Regions from separate parts of the Homo sapiens genome. Here all the other regions are linked to region 3. The links are contacts of gene promoters, found by promoter capture Hi-C in blood cells and fetal thymus (Javierre and others, 2016). All regions are on one chromosome and are shown on one strand. The core of a region is centred on a gene start or on the middle of the fragment in contact, and the rest is flanking DNA. Distances in the headings are between cores, read along the strand shown. Region 1 overlaps TOPAZ1 (testis and ovary specific TOPAZ 1). Region 2 overlaps TCAIM (T cell activation inhibitor, mitochondrial). Region 3 holds the start of ZNF35 (zinc finger protein 35).

The links. The method cuts DNA at HindIII sites, captures the fragments that hold promoters and counts their contacts. A CHiCAGO score of 5 or more calls a contact.
Region 1: a contact is called between a fragment that was not itself captured here and the fragment with the promoter of ZNF35 in region 3, in 3 of 17 cell types (megakaryocytes, monocytes and naive B cells). The highest score is 6.8, in megakaryocytes.
Region 2: a fragment that was not itself captured here is called in contact with the fragment with the promoter of ZNF35 in region 3 in 1 of 17 cell types (monocytes); the score reaches 5.2 in monocytes.

Annotation. Positions count from the first base shown.
Region 1 is chr3:44,318,547-44,321,941 of GRCh38, forward strand. It overlaps TOPAZ1 (testis and ovary specific TOPAZ 1), which reads left to right. Exons shown (of 20, transcript NM_001145030.2): 17 at 2,481-2,645. Among named protein-coding and RNA genes, the nearest start is that of TCAIM, 19 kb to the right of the region's middle. The HindIII fragment of the contact is 1,680 bases long and covers 1,267-2,946 here.
Region 2 is chr3:44,339,807-44,342,919 of GRCh38, forward strand. All of the region lies in intron 1 of TCAIM (T cell activation inhibitor, mitochondrial), which reads left to right. Among named protein-coding and RNA genes, the nearest start is that of TCAIM, 2.6 kb to the left of the region's middle. The HindIII fragment of the contact is 1,166 bases long and covers 813-1,978 here.
Region 3 is chr3:44,646,951-44,650,365 of GRCh38, forward strand. It overlaps ZNF35 (zinc finger protein 35), which reads left to right and starts at 1,782. Exons shown (of 4, transcript NM_003420.4): 1 at 1,782-1,884. ZNF660-ZNF197 (ZNF660-ZNF197 readthrough) reads left to right here. Exons shown (of 8, transcript NR_147692.2): 8 at 1-1,521. It overlaps ZNF197 (zinc finger protein 197), which reads left to right. Exons shown (of 6, transcript NM_006991.5): 6 at 1-1,521. All of the region lies in intron 2 of ZKSCAN7-AS1 (ZKSCAN7 ZNF cluster antisense RNA 1), which reads right to left. RefSeq lists enhancers at 1,467-2,026, 1,905-2,074, 2,155-2,264. The HindIII fragment of the contact is 4,515 bases long and covers 1-3,415 here.

The DNA.
Region 1 (3,395 bases), core at 857-3,356, 330 kb before region 3:
CAACAACTCAGAATTCGACTTGCCTTGTACGGGCCTCAGTTTCACCACCAGGCCCCAGGGCAGGTCTGAGGATCTGAGGTCTGTTATTCTGAGGGTCCTAGGGAAATCCAGCCATTCAGAAGCCTGAGATATTTCAGCATCATGGCCAGGCCCCCTCTCCCAGGGGACTCATTTCCCAGCACCATCTCCATTATCCCTGCCCCATTCCTCGGAAAAAAAAAATATATATATGTATTTTATATATATAATATGTATATTTTATTTATATATAATATATATTTTATATAATTATATTAAATGTATACCTTTATATATAAAAATATATATATATAGTTTTCTTTTGTTAATGCTTCCTGAAGCCTTTGCGGGCACAGAAACCACAAACTGATCGGCTGACAAAAGTAGGAAGAGGAGAGGCAACCGGAAACCTTTGGGGAGCAGTTCCCCTCCATGCCCAGGTCTGTTCTCCCCAGCACAGCTCGGCCCACAACCTGGATGTGCCACCAGGGACCATTACCCTACACGTATTGGGATATAGCTTGACCCCTTCCCCCACGGCCAGGTGGCTCAATCCTGCAAAGGAACCAAGGCAAGGCGGGGAAGAACCCTGCTGCCTGATCCCATGCTGCCCCTCACAGACCGTTGGTTGATTGGCAACACTGAACAGGTTTTTAAAAAAGATGGCAACACAGAAAAAAACAAAAACCCAGACAGGGAGATGATGTGGGGAGAGAGCATGCTAGGTCAGATTTTTTTATATACCTAAACAGTTTGATAAAAATTTTAAATGAATCTCCTAAAATACCATATATACTTTCCAAAAAATGTGACCATTACCCTACCTTAAATATAAAGAATAAGTATTAAAGAAAAATGATGCAATTTTTATGAGAAAAGGTTTATATAATCTACTTTTTGTACATGGGATATATCTAACAGATAAAAAATAATTGAACTTATTCAATCAAAGTAAAATTCACTTTATAAGGAATGGTGAACGAACAGTTTTACTTTTAATGGGAATTATGTTTAACAGATGATCATACAGTCTTTGAAGATATTAAATTCATTTACATTTCTCTCTATATTAAAATGTCAGCAAATGTAGAAGCAAATTAATGAAAGTATCTGTCTAAATGAGTTAATATTCTTAAAGCACTTAGAACATTCCTAACACATAGTATAACTCTGTTAGGTCAATCAGTCAATCACATGGGCTCTAGTAATTGAAAAGCTCCTTTTTAAAGCTTTATACTGGATACTAAAAGCTTTCTTTTGTCATGATATATTTGAATTATCAACTTTTTCTTCAATACTTTTTATATTCACTGTGCTAGGAAGGCCACAAAATAAAAGGATTACTTCTACATTTAGTTCAGTTGAAAAAGAGCACCAAAATATGATTTGAATGTTACATATAGTAATGTTTCACTATGTGTATAATGATTGAGTAAATTAGGTAAATGATAAAATATTGACATTTCTAACATTTTAGTACCTCAGTGTTCTGTACTACAGTCTCCCATTGTTTTTCTCAATGTGAAAATCAGAGCAGAAATTAAGGAACTTCAGCATTATAGGTAATATTCTCTTTTTTTAAAGAGGGTCTGAGGTCTGTTGGTTTGAGGGTCGTAGGTGGGTGTGATGGGTACACAGGAGTTAATTTTATTATTATGCTTTTATAACATATATTATTCTTCTGTATACAACAACGATTTCATAATAGAAATTGTTTTTAAAATAGAAAGTGTTAAGAAAAGCTATTCGCTGGTCGGGCGCAGTGGCTCATGCCTGTAATCCCAGCACTTTGGGAGGCCAAGGTGGGCCAATCACAAGGTCAAGAGATCGAGACTGTCCTGGCTGACACAGCGAAACTCCGTCTCTACTTAACATACAAAAAATTTAGCCAGGTGTGGTGGCACGCGCCTGTAGTCCCAGCTACTCAGGAGGCTGAGGCAGGAGAATCACTTGAACCCGGGAGGCGGAGGTTGCAGTGAGCCAAGATTGCGCCACTGCACTGCACTCCAGCCTGGGTGACAGAGTGAGACTCCATCTCAAAAAAAGAAAAGAAAAGAAAAGCTATTCCCCAGTAATACCAAAAACTAATTAAATTATTTATTGTGAAATTGTTAAACTTGTCCACATAAATAATATTTTATGTTAAAGCAAATATTTGTGATAATCTGAACTTTTTTATATAAAAATAAACATTTAAAATTAGTAATTGACTAGTACACTTAGATGAAGAATTAATTAAAAATAAATATAACAAAGTGGCCATTTGTTTGCATCTTCTTCAGATGATGATCATCACTATATAAGTTATTTCTAATAAATTTGAGCCATGGTTATCTTCTCTGAGTACATATGTTTAAGTTTTGCCTGTTTCTTCAAAAGATATATTGAAACATTAGTTGTGATTATACTGTTAAGTGTCATTTTCATGGTATAAACTATTCATATTTTTTTCTTTTTGGAAGAGTCAGAGTGGATAATCAATACGCCTCTGTGGCCTTGTGATAGACTGGATGTGCTTAATCGACATAATTTACTCTGTACAATTGCACATGAAATCTTAGCCAAGAGCCTTTATAGACAGACATTTGAAGTTTTGCAGAATCTACCAGGTTTTCAAAATTCCCAAGGTATGTTTTTTAAAAGTCTATCTTAATTATCTCTTGCCCATCTGGTGTTTAACTGTTAATAAGAAATAGTTATCCACCTGTTTTGATTGAGTTTTATATTCCAGCATATTTTTTAATGAAGTAGTTTTCTGTAAAATATGTTCTCTGCAAATTGAATATACTTTCCTGATGGTTTAAAAAAATCTGAGATGCTTATCTTTGGGTTGTTTGTCAGCAGTTCCTAAGACAAGCATTTTTATCATTCCCTTTTCCCTACTTCTGTCAAGTCATCAGCAAACAATATGTTTAAATGCCCTGAGCAAGCTTTTTCTCTTATCACTGAATAAATACAGAACTTAGTTTACATTACCTAGGAACACAGGTAAACTTGAAAGAAATGGAGGAAGTGAAACAGATGCCAAGTTCAAACGCCAATGTGGGAAATGGTAGTCAGTACTCTTGAATGTTGGGTGTCCATGAGCAAAAGCTTTGGGTCAAGAATGAGCTATGTGATAGGTTCAGAGGATGACGAAAACGTTAACCTGAGGGCCTCCCCTCAGTACTTTCATCGTACTATCTATAAATTTTCATTTTTCCACTTAATTCCACTGTGCTCCTGTATTGTAATGAGCATTCTTATCTGTTTCTCCTTATACAAAGTGAGCTCAATCAGGATGGTACTATTTTCTTTACCTTGGTATTCCTGGCCCAATGGCTGCTATCTAGCAATCTCTTAATATACAATTAGTTGGTAATGAAACAAAGTAGTAA
Region 2 (3,113 bases), core at 146-2,645, 310 kb before region 3:
TTATACTTATCTGCTTGTGTCTGTTTTTACACTCCCCCCTCCCTCTAAAAGTCTTTTGAGTATTAGAATTGTCTTAATAATTTTCTAGTCCCAATGCTTTACGCAGGACCTGGCCCATAAGTGGTGATGAATGGGTGAGTTAAAGACTCGGTATGCCTCCCAAGTGTGATAAGACAGTGCAACCTCTTCAGTTATTTTATAGCATTTTCCAAGTGGAAGTATAGTGGGCTAAGTGCAGTATGGACAGGAACCACCTATGTAAGAATTTATCTGAAGACGAGAAGCCTGCGGTTGATGTGGATGTCCCAGACTTTTGGAGCTAGTGTCTGAATGAGAGCACCCAACTCTACTCTGAAGCAATGTGTCTTCAGTCAGCTGATAGTAATTTGATTTTCTGTGTAGCTAGTCCTGAAAGAGGAAGAACATTAGATCTGAATCTTCTAGTTGTCTTAGCAGTTATAATCTCAAAGTAAATTTACAGATTGACATTCCAGTTATCAGGCCTTCTAATTTAGCTTCCCCAAGGCCCACGTATTTCTGTCTTGAAGTGATAAAATTGGGTTCTGTTCTTACAAGGTTGAAGACTAACCCAAGATCTGGGCGTTGTGAAGCGGCAGGCAGCCATGCCTGCCAACCTGCTGGACATTGTCTCTACTTAGAATTTTGGTTTTTTTAATCTGAAAAGTACATAAACCATACAGGAAACAAAGAACTAATTCAAGCAAAAACTTGAAATCCTCCTTTGATTTTTAGCATAAATTGGGTAGCTAAAGATCCAAGTTTGTATTAAATAATTATTTTTAAAGAATTAAAGCTTAAACATTAACAGATGCCCCAGAATCCTCTTTGGTGATAGAATCAGGATTCCCTAATACAGTGGTTCTCAAACCTGAGTGTGCATCAGAATCCCTGACAGTGTGTTAAAACAGATTCCTCCATCCCACCCAGATTCTGATTCTGCAGGACTCGGATGGGACCTGATAATTTGCATTTCTCACGGATGCTGTTGCTGCTTTGAAAACCACTGCCCTAAGAGTTATTTCTTTCTCTCCTTCCTACCCTGTCCCTTTCTTCTTTTCCAAAACTGGATCCTCATCTGTCACTTAGTCGTCAGAGCCCATTCTTGAAGAGCTTACAGGAAATACTCAAAAGACTCATAGTACTCGGTTTTTCATTCTTATTCTTAAACAGAACGAGAAAATATATTTTTAATTTTTTCCAATGATTTGTATAGGAAGTGATCATCTTAGAGCAATAATTTTGTTGAATGGATAGCAGAATTATTAACTGAATATATTTTTATATATATAGGCATTTTCCTCTAGAAATATGAATTGGCTGCCATTGTGGGAGAGAGGAGAATTATTGGAAAAAGGAAAAGTCACATTCCCTCTCATTTCTCCCCTATTGCTCTCTCATTGTTTCTCCATGACCCAGAACACTGTCTTTAAAAAGTCAGTATTAATTCATAAAAAGACAATTCCCACAGCACAATATAACTTTATTATATTCACTTTAGGTTTTTATTTTGAAGAGAGAAATGCTACTTCCATCAAAACTTGTGTTTTTATTGGTTAGCAAGTGCCACCTTTGTCTTCAAATGGTAAAAGTAAACAACTAGCTATTTTTTAATTCTGATGAATTAAAAGTATTTTTCTAGAGAAAAATTTGTGAAATTATTCATCTGTACTTTTTGAATTGTATGTAGCCTTGGCAAAATTGCCTACTACCTTGTGTTTAAGACCTTCAGACATTGACTCCTTATTGTGATAATTCTGAGTTTTTCAACAAAGTTTTTCAAAATTTGTTTTTGAATAAAATGTTGTATTGAACTGCATGTTTGAGCAATATGTTATCTGACATTAGATGGAAAAAAATTATGCCATTTTTTAATACACTCTGACATAATAATAGTTGCAACTGTAATGAATTTTTTATTTACTAAATGTGGCTAAATCCCTTATGCATATTCTACTTAAGCTTCACAAAAGTTCTATGAAAAAGATAGCCCCTACTTTCATAAGTGATGTACCCCTGAAAACACATACACAAAGTCAGATGTGGGATTCCACATCCACAGTGCTTAAACATCATTATTAGGTTCTAAATTAGATTTCACCTTTTAGAAAAGTCTTATTGAATATTTCTAGCATTTTGTCTGTGTCTTTCCACCATTTTATCTTAAATGTGCTGTCCAGATAACTTCAGTGAGCATCAGATACAGACCAAATATCAATATAGATAACGTTTTCTCATTTGTATTTCATTTCGTATTCTTTATTACTAGTATTAGAATTGTAATTTTTCTTTTTTATAAAATAAAGACAAAATTCAATAAAATATTCACTAATTTCATTTACTAAATTGTACTCCTGTCTAGCAGATTAGCATTGTGTTAGCTCAAAGTATTCTCTCAGTTAATGAAAACTTAAGATTCAGAATTAAAAGGCAGTTTGGAGTGGGGACAGAATGTTTATATATATCCACATGTTTCTGCTGTAATGCCATTCTTGCATTCCTGGAAATCCTGACATGCTGCCAAACAATAAGCAAAAGTAACAGTTTGTGGAGAAAAAGCACACACCACTCAAAACTGAACAAAATTTTATAAGAGCCCTAACAAAAACCCTAACCCTAATAAACATGGTAGTAAAATTAAATCTAGTTTAGACCAGTTTCATCAAGATTAACATTCTAATCTAGGAGTAGCTTTATTTATCAATCAAATTTTTTTTTAAAAGACTTGGAAATCTCTAGCTTTTTCGTTTATCCTAGCACATTGCCAGATGGTTTGATGAAGTGGAAAATGTAGCCAGACTTGAACCCACTAAACATCTGCTTCTTAAACCAAAAGAAAGAAATACCAGGAGATTTTTTTTCCTTAAGGTCTTTACATATCACTAAAGCCTTTTTTTTTTTTTTAAATTGTAGAAAGCCTACCTCTGATCACTTCAAATCAGTAATATGTTGGGGGTAAAGTGCATATATAAGTCTTTCCCCTATTGACCAATTGCATATAAGCTGATTCACATTAAATAAACATTTTAAGGCTGGACACAGTGGCTCAGGCTTGTAATCTCAGCACTTTGGGAGGCCGAGGAAGGAGGATCAGC
Region 3 (3,415 bases), core at 532-3,031:
TCAAAAGCATGCTCCTTAGAAGGAAAAAAAATGTTAAATTGGACTTCATCAAAATTAAGATAATTTACCCTGTAAGAGACCTTTTTACAAAGATGATATTACAGGTTGGGAAAAAATATTTGCAAATCATATCCAACAAGGGATTTGTATGTAAACTACATAAAGAACTTTCCAAATTTAACAGTAATAAGTAAATACAATTAGAAAATAAGCAAAAGACAGACATTTCACTGAAGTATAGATAGCAAATAAGCAAATGAAAAGATGTTCAACATCATTAGGCATGAGGGAAATGCAGAGTAAAATCGTGAGATATCACCTATCAGAATAGCTTAACTTTTTTTTTTTAATGGTGGTAACTGCTGGCAAGGATGAAGAGAAACAGGATCTCATACATTGCTGGGAATGTAAAATGGTACAGCCACTCTGGAATATAATTTGGCAGTTTCTTGTAAAACCACACATGTATATGTCATGCTTCAGGAATTGCACTTCTGAGCATTTATCCCAGAGAAATGAAAACTTGCGTTCACACAAAAACCTGTATACGAATGTTCATAGCAGCTTTATTTGTAATGGTCGAAACCTGTAGGCAACCCATATATCCTTCCTTAGGTGGTTAAAACAAATTGTGGTTTATGTATTACCATGGAATACTTGTTACTCTGCAATAAAATTGACTTATTGATATCCATAACAACTCAAATAAATTTCAAGGGAATTAATGCTGAGTGAAAATAATCACAAAAGGCCATATTCTGTATGAAAATATTCATATAACATTCTCAAAATGATAAAACTATAGAGATGAAAAATGGATTAATGGTTGCCAAAGGTTAGGGATGGTGGGAGGAAAAATGGGGAGAGGGTTGGATGGAACTATTAAAAGGTAGCACCAGAAAGGTCTTTGTGGTGATGGAACACTTGTGTATCTTGATTGCAGTGGTGGTTACACAAATCTATAGGTGCTATACCTATACACACATACTGTACCAATGTTGATTTCCTTTTTCATTTTATGTAAGATGTAACCATGAGGGGAAAGTGGGTGAAGGGTGCTATCTTTGCAACTTCCTGTGATTCTATCATTTCAAAATAAAAAGTAAAAACCAACAATGGCAACGAAAACCCAAAACTAAAGAGCTGTAACCAACTAAAGTGTGTGAAACTGATTTGAAAAAAAGTTATAAAATACATGTTTTAGGACAGTTGGGAAATTTGAATATGACTGGTTATTAGATGGTATTAGGGAATTTTTGTTGATTTTCTTACCTGTGACGGTGGTGGTAGTTTGAAGAATATTCTTAATCTTAAGGGATGCATGTTGAAGTATTTGGAATGAAGTGTTCTGATGTTTACAACTTTCAAAAAAATGATTTTAAATATGTATTGAGAGATCAGGCAAACATAGCAAAATGTTCATTGTTGAGTCCACATGGAAAATACGGGTATTCAATGTGCCATACTTTCAACTCTTCTGTACTCTGATATTTTCAAAATAAAACATTTGAGGGGAAATTATCAGGGCTTTCTACAGATTAATGCTGTGTAGCTTCAGGCTCTTGGGTGCGCGCCTCGCCTGAGTGTCTCATCCCTGCTTGGGATGCGCCCCTCCCTGAGGCTCACTTAGAGCTTCCAACAGCACAATCCTCCTAAGCGCTTCTGCCCCATCCCTGGTCTGGGGCGACATTGGACACCCATCGAGAGGAAAGCACCTCCGAGGTTCCTAGAGAGGCCGGCTTGGCGACTTGGGGAGCCGGAAGCCCATCCCGAGGCACTTCCTGTCCGGTCATTGTTCTCGTGCCGGTAGAAGCTGAAGTACCGGTCAGCCAGCCTCCTGCTGCAGAGCCAGTGAACTCAGGTCGGGCTTCTCAGCTGCGCACAGTGAGTGGGGTCGGAGGGGGTGGGCACGAACGTCGAGGGAGAAAAAGGGGCTCTCCCAGGGGCCATGGCCCTAGGAGCGGCCCCTGCGTCCTTTCCCCGGGGACACCAGCCTTGTCTGTCGGGGTGCGGGGGGCAGTGAGTTCCCCACCGCCTCGGAATCCCGGCTGCTGCCCACCTGGGGCCTGGTCCGGGAGAGGATGCACACGGACCGGCCAAGGGGCCAGATAGGTCCCAGGGACAGGGCCGCGAGGAGCCTATACGTGGAAAGAATGGATTGCCACGTTTGGAAATAGAGAAAGGACGTTGAAAGGGAGCCTTTGATAGAGGGCCCTGTGCCGTCTGGGACCGGAGGTCCGTCAGAATCTGATCAGAAGTCTGATGAGAGTACTCACTGTAGGCAGTCTTATACACAAGGTGGAACTAGTCTTAAGGACCTTCATACCAGATTGAATTCGGATAGTGATGGAAAGAATAGTCCTCCAGAATTAAGGTTTGTCACAGGAATGAAAGTATTGCATTACTTAATAAATTCAGTGTATACAGTAAGTGGCCAGTAAGTTGACATGGGGAAAAGAGTATGATCACTTCAATAGCAGCAACAGGGGATTGAATAAGATTTCGCACCCTTTTCCAATAAAACATTCAAAGGGGGTTAGAAAGAAAAATTTCAATCTCTTCATAAGCAATCAAACTAGTAAGGTTATTTTGCTCACAGGTTAAAAACAAAAACCCTGCTGGCTTAGCTGTGATAAAGGGTTACTGTCAATTAGTGGGGGTGTGAATTGGCATGGTGCTTTTGGAAAGCAATTTGACAGTACATATCAACCAGCAAATCCTTGAACCAGTAATTCTCTGATTATTCTAAAGGAATAATTCAGCAAAAAAAAAATATTTACAAAGAAAAACTTTTAAATATTAATAAAATGGAAATATAAACTTTTACTAAATAAATGGTTCATAAATAGAATATGATTAAGTAAATGATAATATAGCCACAATTTAGAATACTATGCCAGAATGAGGTAGTTCTATATGTGTTGTATTGAAAGATTGTTAAGACTATTGTGAAATACGGAAATTGAGTTAAAAAACAATGCAGGTTGCTGAACAGTATATAACTGTGATGATCTAAAGTATGTTTTTGAAAAATAAGCAATATGTGTGAAGGTGAACATATAAGTATGTAAATGCAGAGAAAATGGGTTAGGACTCCCATCTAAACTGATAAGTACTTTGTGTGTGTGTGTGTGTGTGTGTGTAGTGTGTGTAGGTTATATATTTAATTCTATATATTTCTGTATTACTTGATCCTTTTTCAATGAGAGTGAAGATTTATCAACACCATAGGTTATTGTGTAGCATTTAAAATAAGCATGAAGAATGGCAACATGAAAGTAATCTTTTTTTAAATCTTAAGTGTAATATTTTATCTCACAGGACATTTGGAAGCTATGGAAAATGTAAAAATCAAACAAAAAAAATGAAAAGAACCTTAAAACTACCTGTAATTACACCATCCAGAGTTAACTAC